2 separate regions of the Homo sapiens genome follow, and region 1 is linked to region 2. The links are contacts of gene promoters, found by promoter capture Hi-C in blood cells and fetal thymus (Javierre and others, 2016). All regions are on one chromosome and are shown on one strand. The core of a region is centred on a gene start or on the middle of the fragment in contact, and the rest is flanking DNA. Distances in the headings are between cores, read along the strand shown.

The links. The method cuts DNA at HindIII sites, captures the fragments that hold promoters and counts their contacts. A CHiCAGO score of 5 or more calls a contact.
Region 1: a fragment that was not itself captured here is called in contact with the fragment with the promoter of TMIGD1 in region 2 in 1 of 17 cell types (neutrophils); the score reaches 6.1 in neutrophils.

What each region holds. Positions count from the first base shown.
Region 1 is chr17:30,430,062-30,435,438 of GRCh38, reverse strand. It overlaps CPD (carboxypeptidase D), which reads right to left. Exons shown (of 21, transcript NM_001304.5): 8 at 3,558-3,667. Among named protein-coding and RNA genes, the nearest start is that of GOSR1, 45 kb to the left of the region's middle. The HindIII fragment of the contact is 1,266 bases long and covers 2,467-3,732 here.
Region 2 is chr17:30,330,231-30,335,502 of GRCh38, reverse strand. It overlaps TMIGD1 (transmembrane and immunoglobulin domain containing 1), which reads left to right and starts at 1,446. Exons shown (of 7, transcript NM_206832.3): 1 at 1,446-1,503; 2 at 3,345-3,451. The coding sequence starts at 3,370. The HindIII fragment of the contact is 5,890 bases long and covers 1,221-5,272 here.

The DNA.
Region 1 (5,377 bases), core at 1,850-4,349, 98 kb before region 2:
GCACCATTTATTTAAAAAATCTATTCTTTGCCTATTGAATTGTCTTGGCATCCTTTTCTAAAAAAAAAAATCAACTGACCATCAACATAAGAATTTATTCCTGGGTTCTCAGTTCTATTTCATTGATCTATATGTCTGTCTTTATGCCAGTACCACACTGTCTTAATTACTGTAGCTTTGTAGTAAGTTTGAAATTGGATGTATGAGTTCCCTAACTTTTGTCATTTATTCTTCATTTCAGAGATAATTTTGTCTTTTTCTTCCATTTTTTTCCTGAGTCCTATAAACTTTATTTTATTTATCCCTGTTTTTTGTTTCCTGGCCTCTGTTTTTATTTTTTGACTATCTGAGTTGAGGTAGTTTCTCATATTCTCAACGTATATTTGGGTATACTTAATCTGTTTAGAATGCCAACTGAACAGTTTTCTTCTGCTTCTCGATTATTTTTTGCTAATGGTAGGGTCTCCTTAGTGTCTATATGTGAAGTTTCATTTCCTAATTTTCTGCAATCATTTTCCATGGACTTTATTTTCCTCTTTATTTTTATGATATTGGGCATTTAATATTATTCCTAGCTTAATGGTACACTTTTCTGTCGGTCTAGCAAAATCCAGGTACCTCAGTGTGGTTATTTATTTGTCTTGGTGGTAAGGGTGGAGCTGAGAATCTTCTGATTTTAAAGTTCTTTTCTGTCTTGTAAAACCTTACATTTCTCCCCACTTTTTCCTTTTCCCATTCACCATCTAATTGCCAAGGAGCACTTCTTCATTTCTATCTTTGCCTCTTTTTTTCCTTCTCCAGAAGCTATGAGTTTGGAAGATCTCCCTGTAACCATCCTCTCCTTTTAAATTGTACTTATCCCATTAAATCACACCAGATCCTTTAAGTTGTGTGCATTTTGAAATCTCTTCCCTGTATTCCAGAGCTCTAATCTGCCCAGTTACTCTTTTAGTATTTTTGGATTTAGTGCATATGTGATGTATGGTGGTCATTCCAAATTACCTTCACAGCTGCCCTTCACTGGCACCCACTTCTGTCTTCTCCGTAAGTTTTCTTGGTCTGTTTTACCTCACCACAAAGCCTTGTGGTGGGGCGAAGGTGGGGTAGGTGCATGATAGATCATGCTGAGACTTCTTGATTTTTAAAAAATTTACAGTTATTTTGCAGTTTCAGGATCTTTTGTGATGCCAACAGTGTGGTTTTGTGTAAAATTTGGTAGTTTTTAAGTCGTTTTATATTGTTTAAAGAAAAACCCTGGGAGATAGGTTATCACATAGCCATCATTGTCTTTGGCTGCTCAGATGTCTCCCAAGACTATCTACTTTTGAGAAGTTTTGAAGAGTAAAAATAAAGAAACTTTGAATGGTAGCTTCATGGGGGCTTACTAAGGTTAGCAGAAGACAATATTTTTAGAGGAGCTGCTTATTGACCAAGAGAAAAAAGGCTGTGAGTGAAGACTGGGGAGTTTAATTATCACCTTCCTCATTTATAAAATAAGATATGAAGACACAAGATTCGAGGAGGCAGAATGCAGTGGGATCAAGAAATGGAGGAGAATATTGTTAAGACACACATGAGAAACAATTGAGAAGACAGAATCTTAGTGAACTCACATCAGATTACTCAAAGTTCTACTTGAGTTCAATGCAAAGTGATCTACTATGAATAAGAGGGATAGAGCTGGAACAGGAGGCTCAGATAGAGGATAAAGGCTCTGAATCACCATAGTGGGAACTGAGCCAGGGAGTCAAGTAGCTAAACAGGAAATGTTGCCATGTAGGACTGAGGGTTCAGCTGAAGTTGGAGAGCACACATATGGACTATAGCAAATTGCCGTGACAGTGTGACCACTCTAGGCTGTACTTGTAATATTGGTATGGAGAAAAGAGATAATGGTAATTACTGAGGACTGGAGGGCAAAGCAGTTATGTCAAAGGGGTGTACAAGACCCTTAGGAGAATCATTGAAAAGGTATGTCCATGGGTCTACCCTACAGAGAAAGGTAAATCAAATCAAAAGGGTTAATGGTCTAAGAAAACAAAGAGAAGATAAGGAACTAGAAGCCAAAATGAAGGCGAAAAGCAGAAATCATGAGAATGAGCATAGAATGTGATGAGAAAATATGCAAAATCCAGCCATTTAATTTTTATTTTGATGGTTGGGACACTATACATTCTCTTATTACTCCACGTATGTACTTCAAAAAAACATATATGTCCAAACAGAAAGCAATAATTCTCTAAGGTGAAATGAACAGCTGTACTCCTCTAGTAGAAACTCTGAACAATCTCACAAGATTCATTTGCAGAGGATGAGGGAATGGGAAAAGTGGAAGGATGGAGGACTGTGACTGGAGAGTGCAGAGTTACAGTAATAATATTCATTACCTATAACCAATAATAGTACCAATATAACCAATAACAATACTAAGTCAGTAGTAACACCAAACATTGAAACTAACAAGCTTAGTTTACAAGCCTCAACTTTTAACATGTTTTCTAAGACAATTTTTATTTTTTTGAGACAGGGTCTCAGCTTTGTCACCCAGGCTAGAGTATAGTATTGTGATCAAGCTCACTTCAACCTCAATCTCCTGGGATAGAGCAATCCTCCCACCTCAGCCTCCTAAGTAGCTGGAACAACAAATGCATGTCACCACAACCGGCTAATTTTTTTTTTATTTTTTATTTTTAGTAGAGGCAAGCTCTTGCTATGTTGCCCAGTCTGGTCTCAAACTCCTGAGAGCTCAAGCAATTCTCCTGCCTTGCCCTACCAAAGTGCTACGATTTCAGGCATGAGCCACCAAGCCTGGTCCTAAGAACGATTTTTAAATTAAATTTTCACACACACACACATTTTAACATTCCCGATTGTAAGAGTAATCCATGTTTATCATAGGAAGTTTGGAAAATACAGAAATTTCTGCCTGCTTTTCCTTGCTATATGTAACTACAGGATCTTAAATACCTTAGACTAAAGTTTGGCAATTTTTTCCTGTAAAAAACCAGAAAGCAAATATTTCAGACTTTTTAGATGCAAAAGTCTTTGTTGAAACTACCCAACTTTGCCCTTTGATCACTGGATTTTCCTTCTTTAGTTTGTTAATATAGTAAATTATACTGACTTACTTTGAAATGTTGAAGGAGAAAGCAGCCACACACAATATATAAAAATATAGCTGTGGCTGTGTGTCAATACAATTTTATTTACAAAAACAGGTGGTGGGCAAGATTTGGCTCCAGAGCTATAATTCATTAAGCCCTTATCTTGGCCTACTTTACTGGGCTTATAACTTATTTGTCAAATGAAATAAATTGACATGTATATGTTCCAGGTACTGTGCTAAAACCATAGATAAAAGGCCAATGGAGAAAGACATGTAGTGTATTCAAAAGTGAGGTGGGAAACAGGAGAAAAAGCTATTTTTCGGAAACAGCTGAAAAAGTCATGCTTTATTAACTATGGAAGCACTTGACCTGAGTCTTGCAGGACTTTAAAGCATATTTTTAAATAAAAGAATTAATTTTGTAACATTTTATATTCAAAGACAAGCCTACCTTGGAATAAGAAAGTGCTATTTGTTGGAACACAGCATCATCTGGTGATTTACTATATGTGGCAAGTCCTTGTTCATCATCATCAAAAGGGTAGTTAACCACCAAAGAACCTATAAGGGAAAAGAGGAAAATGTATCATGTTGTCTGTTTCAAGATGGATTATTAACATAAAGCTTTTCAGAATACTGCCAGAGAAGAGAAAACAATAAAATTTGCCAAGCAGAATTTCCTCAACAGAAATGAAAATTACACTAATTTCTTCAATTCAAAGTGAATAAGTGAGAAGATATCTTTCAAATGGCTAATTTTCTAAAGCCACAAAAAAAGATTTATAGTACTTCTACCAAACAGTCTACCTCAAAAAAATAATTAGCATCAATACGGAAAGGACTAGCAACAAAAGAAAAAAACAGATATACGGGATTCCATCAAAATCAAAAACTTTTATGCATCAAGAACATAAGAAAGAGAAAAGACAACCTATAGAATGGGGGAAAATGTTTTGCAAGCCTGATAAGGGTCCAGTGTCCAGTATTTAAAAACTCTTACAACTTAACAACAAAGACAAAAACTCAATTAAAAATTGGACAAAGGACTTGAACAGATATTTCTCCAAAGAAGATAGATAAATGGCCAACAAGCTCATGAAAAGATCCTCGGCATCATTAGTTATTGTGGAAATGCACACCAAAACCAAAATGAGGTCCTACTTCTCACCCACTAGGACAGCTATAATAATAAAAATAGAAAATAATAAGTGGTGGTGAGGATATGAAGAAACTGGAACCTCATACATTGCTGGCGGGAATGTAAAATAGTCCAGCCTCTGTGGAAAACAGTTTGGCAATTCCTCAAAAAGCTTAACATGGAATTATCATATGACAATTTCACTCCTAAGTGTACACCCAAAAGAACTGAATACAGGGGCTGCGTACAGTAGTTCACACCTATAATCTCAGCACTTTGGGAGGCCAAGGCAGGCAGGTGGATTGCTTGAGCCCAAGAGTTCAAGATCAGCCTGGGCAACACTGGGAGACCCTGTCTCTACAAAAAATTAAAAATAAGCCAGGTGTGGTGGTGCATGCCTGCAGTTCCAGCTACTTGGGAGGCTGAGGTGGGAGGACTGCCTGAGCTCAGGAGTTTGAGGCTGCAGTGAGCCATGATCACACCACTTACACTCCAGCCTGGGTAACAGAGTGAGACTCTGTTTCAAAACAAGGGGGGCACGGGGAAAAGAAAACAGGAACTCAAATAGATATTTGAATGCCAATGGGCATAGAAGCATTTTTCATTGTAGTCAAAAAGTCAAAACAACCCAAATGTCCATCAGTACGTAAATGGATAAAGCAAATGTGATATTGATATATACATATGTATATACAATGTACTATTATTCAACCATAGAAAGGAATGAAGTACTGATATATGCCACAACATGAGTGAACCTTGAAAACACTATGCTAAATGAAAGAAGCCAGACACGAAAGGTCACATGTTATAGGATTCCATTTCTATGAAATATCCAGAATAGGTAAATCCCTAGAGACAGAACAAAGATTGGTGGTTACCAGAGGTTGAGGGGAGAAGGGAAAGGGGAGTCACTGTTAAATGGGTGTGGGGTATCCTTTTGCGGAGATAAAAATGTTTTGGAACAAGATAGAGGGGGTGGTTGCAAAACACTATGAATGCACTAAACGCCACTGGAATTATGTAAACTTCACCTCAATAAAAAAATTAGTATCAAAATTTTTGAAATTTTATGAAAAAGAATATTGCTTTCCCCTATCTTCTTTCAAGATCCTTCTAAATTATAAAGATGG
Region 2 (5,272 bases), core at 197-2,696:
CTCAAATGATCCACCCTCCTCGGCCTCCCAAAGTGCTGGGATTAAGGGAGTGAGCCACTCACCGTGCCCGGCCGAGATCACCTTTAAATAAACTATTGGCACTCAAAGCTCTGTCTCAGGGTCTATTTTGGAGGCACCAAGAACCAAAACATCACTCCATTGCTAAATTCATTTTAAAATGACAATCTTGGATCCCTGGAGAGGCAAACTCAAAACCTGTTTGGGTGGTGCTTGCAACCCAGCCAACAGGAGCTGCTCTTAGCTCTGATTTTTGCTTGAACAATGCTATAGTGAGGTTGTGTTGATTTAGGATGCCCTGCTCAGCCTATATTAATAATAATAGTAATAAGAGCTACTGTTTACCAAGAGCTTACTGTGCGGCAGATTCACATGCTTCATTTCATTTAATCCTCACAGTGACTCCGTAGGGAGGGTACTATTACTATTTCCATTGTATTGATGAAGATCCTGAGGCTCATGGAGGTTAAATAACTTTTCAAAGTTACATAGCTAGTAAGAGGCAGATTGCTGGTGTGCTTCAGCAGTGTGTTAAAATGTGTAGATAACTATAAATATTCTTCTGTTATATTTTTGTGTAAATGGGAACAATAGTACTTGGCAGATAAAATTTGCATCGTTAACAATACCATAAACATAGTGTAATGCAAGGATCTCCCAATCAGGTGAGAGCCTCAAGAGGATAAAACTGTTCCCTAGGCCAAGGTGGGCAGATTGCTTAAGGCCGGGAGTTAGAGACCAGCCTAGGAAACATGGCGAAATTTCATCTCTACCAAAAATATATATATTAACAAAGTTTAGCTGGGCATGGTGACTCACGCCAGTAGTCCTAGCTCCTTGGGAGGCTGGGAGCAGAGGTTCAGTCAGCCACAATTGTGCCATTGCATTCCAATCTGGGTGACAGAGTGAAACCCTGCCTCAAAAAACAAAACAAACAACAACAACAAAAAAACGGCTCCCTGCCATGCCTGGCTTGGTACAGCTTATGCACTGGGCTTGGGTTACTAGTGGTAACTAAGACTTTTCCAGCATTATTTAAGTTGTGTAGAATCTTCCAATGTTTTGACCTCTGTTAAAGTCAAACTTCTCTTTGGACTCGTCCCTTCACAATCCCCAGGCTAGATGATCAAAACGCAGCCATCTTACTTAAATATGACAATATTCAGTGAGATGCGCTACAGATTTTTGCACAAGTTCAAGCTTTCTTGGAACAACACATCCCTGTTAGTAATATCCGGCCCCACCTAGTAACCGAGGTAGACATAGAAACTTAGATCTTAAGAAGATGTCTTTCCCAATTACTATCTTCTCTAAGACTCCATAAAGAAAAACAGACTTTGAACCCAAGTTATCTTATTTATTTGACCCTGCTGTCATAAAGCGTTCAAATTCAAGTATTATAAAGGATTGTAACAGGGAAAGCATTTAGGGTTTTCAGGCAGAGGAACAGTTGGCCAAGGAAGTCAGCTTCTCAGAGCTCAAGAGGTAAGTGGTAAGACTGTCTTATATAGAAAGTAGAGAGTCATACAGATTAAAAACAAGCCAAGTGAGGGGAATACATTTTGAAAAGTTGCTGTCTCGGTGGAGTGGAGGGAAAGAGAAGACATAGATTTGTCCCCTTAATAGGGCTGGGTGAGGTCTGGCAAGAAGCCTGCACTCTCAGTTTTTATTGAGTACTTGTAGTGCAGAGCGCTTGAGAAAACTCTACTATTGACCACATTCTGCAGTAATCACTGTTACAACACTGTGATAGAAATCTTTTTGGCAAATATTTAAAATTACAAAAGAATCAATATTAGTAGTAATTGCATCTTACGAAAAGATTGATGCAGGCTTGTCTGCCAGAAAGGGTGAGCCTGGCATGAATGAAACTTACTCCTGTCAGGGCACGCCTGGGACAGGGGAGGAGTAGAGTAGGTATAGGTATATTTCAGCTCTTGTAAATTAATACTGGTGTTAAGGGGAGAGAACTCCCAGTGGCCAGGGACTGGAAAAGATTAACAGCAGCTTTTTTTTATTTTTTTATTTTTTATTTTTATTTTTTGAGACCGAGCCTCACTCTGTCGCCCAGGCTGGAGTGCAGTGGCATAATCTTGGCTCACTGCAACCTCCACCTCCCAGGTTCAAGCAATTCTCCTGCCTCAGCCTCCCGAGTAGCTGGGATTACAGGCGCTCGCCACCATGCCTGGCTAATTTTTTTTTTTTTTTTTTGCATTTTTAGTAGAGATGGGGTTTCACTATGTTGGTCAGGCTAGTCTCAAACTCCTGACCTCAGGTAATCCACCTGCCTCAGCTCCTAAAGTGCTGGGATTACAGGCATGAGCCACTGCACCCAGCCTAACAGCAGCTTCTTAAAGGAAAAGAATATTAATCTAGGCAGTAGATTGGGTAGTAGGGTGGTTGAGAGTAGGGTGGTTAAGAGCATGGTCTTGGGAGTCTGGGTTCAAATCCCGACCTTGACATTTACTGTCTGTGGGATCTCAGGCAAATTACATAGTCTCTTTAAATCTATAGAAACGACCTCAGGAGGGTTGTTAGGAGGCTTAATTGTGACTGAAATGATGTATGTAAAGTGTTTAGCACAGTCCCTGTTGCGCAGAAAGTTTTCCGTATGTGGTTCGCTATATTTATAGTAGTACTCTTGAAAGGAAGTAATGAATATATGTTTTTTTCCCAGATGGAAATGGAGAATATCTTAGGGAGAGGGAGAGTTGAAGCAAAAGCAAGAAGGGAGAAAGGACACCTTTATTATTTATTATTTTTAGTCCATTGGGTCAAGGGGAAGAGAGAGAGAGAATAGTGGGAGAAAGACAAGATTAACATGGTTTAAACTAGAGGCCATGTTTCAATTGAGGCTTTTCTACGTACACACCATTTGAATCTATGGGATTTGGAGTAGTCTCAAAAACTCTCTATTATCAGAGAACATCTTTACAAAAATGACCCAAGAAAAACTTTCAGAACAAGAATTACTTTGTTCAGTAGGGACTGTCTGAGAATGAGACAAGTTTCATTCTGCTAAAATGAAATTCTATCAGTTTCTCTAGGGAAGACTGGTTTCATCTTCCCCAGGGCACCCTGACGCTGCTCTATCTGTCATAGCCTATTTCCTGTGGTTTTATGTTGCTTTTAAAAAAAATTTCTTACTACTAAATGTACTTTGAACTTAGTCAGACAGGGTTGTTTAATTAAAAGCTAGAAGTAGTACCGTTATAGCTGGGATGATTCATCTGGGACTTCACTTTAAATGCATAATAGACAGAAGGAAGGTTCACGAACTCATTGCAGACCAAAGTACAAAACCAACTGCACTATTTTTCCCTTAGTAGATCTGAGTTTAACTCATTAAAGATGGCATGGAAGAGCAGTGTCATAATGCAAATGGGAAGATTTCTTCTCTTAGTAATTTTATTTCTGCCACGTGAGATGACAAGTAAGTTAAAGTTCTTTTTGGCCTCTTTTTAGATAAAGAAAAATTTCCGATTAAGAAAAGTGATCAATGGGCATTGGATATATCCTTAAATTCCAAATTGGAATGACTACACAGTTAGCATGGCTCACAGTACAGGAGTCAACTAACAATAAAAAATCAAATGGAGGCCAGGCGGGTGGCTCACGCCTGTAATCCCAACACTTTGGGAGGCCGAGGCAGGTGAATCATGAGGTCAGGAGATCGAGACCATCCTGGCTAACACGGTGAAACCCCATCTCTACTAAAAATACAAAAAATTAGCCTGGTGTGCTGGCAGGCGCCTGTAGTTCCAGCTACTCGGGTGGCTGAGGCAGGAGAATGGCGTGAACCCAGGAGGTGGAGCTTGCAGTGAGTGAGCCGAGATTACGTCACTGTACTCCAGCCTGGGCGACAGGGCGAGACTCCGTCTCAAAAAAAAAAAAAAAAAAATCAAATGGAAAAATATTGTTTTTAGGGTTTTATTATTACAAGACAAGGTGAAGTATTCTATTCTCTCCAGAGCCACCACCAGAATCCTCCTACATTTTAATGCATTTTATTACTAATGTTACCCCAAATAATCATCTGTTTATCTGAACATACCATTTCACATGAAAATCTTTCCAGCATTTGCTCTCCTACCACTCTTTTCTGATTTTAAAAGTAATGCATAGTCATTGTAAAATAAATCAGGCAATCTATAAAAAAAAAAAGAAAAGTACAAATCCCCCCAAATACTTTCATCCAGAGATGACAACCACTCAATATTCCATATTTTAATAAAATACTAGACAACAATACCATTATCTTTACAAGTAGCTTAAGTTTTTTGCTTTTTTGAGAAGAAGTCTCACTTTGTTGCCCAGGCTGGAGTGCAGTGGTGTGATCTTGGCTCACTGCAACCTTCATCTCCCAGGTTCAAGTGATTCTCCTGCCTCAGCCTCCCGAGTAGCTGGGATTACAGGAGCCCGCCACCATGCCTGGCTAATTTTTTTGTATTTTTAGTAGAGACAGGGTTTCACTATGTTGGCCAGGCTGGTCTCAAACTTTTGACCTCAGGTGATCCGTCCGCCTCAGCCTCCCAAAGTGTGGGATTACAGGCATGAGCCACCATGCCCGGCCAGCTTAAGTGTTTTAAAAGGAAGGTTAATGTGTTTACAGAACATATTAACAAATGTTATCTGGGGTACAGGTTTATGACAGATAAAGTTCTTTTTTAGCTTTTGTTACTTGCTTCTGAATCAGAAAAATAAAAACCGAAATTCAGGTGTATTACTATGCAATGAATAGGTTTCTAAAAGTCAGAGCTGAAAAACAAAACAAAACAAAAAAAACCTGGTATGTATCCTGATCACCCAACCCACAAAGACTGGTCTACCACACAAACCTCAACTACTTAAACATCTTTTTATTTTTCTTCACTGCCAAAACAATATTAAAACATTATAGATGCAAGACCCAATTTGTCCATAATCCTATCATTTAAGCAGAAAATGTTTTCAAATCAGTTCTTACTCATCTGCATGTGCAATTTTGATACATTTGTAGTAATTATTAGAGCTTTAATTTATATTCTGCCTTTTTGCCTAAAGTTTATACCTTAAATATTTTTCCATTTCATTCCCTTGCTTTCCCACTTTCAATCCCTTCAAGTAAACAAATTAAATATGGTATGTGTATATGTATATACATATATGCATGCGTGTGTGTGTATTCAATATATATGGGTTTTTTCCTGTCTTTTTTCCATGAAAAAATACTTCCATGTATACACACATACACACATATGTGTATGATCATTCT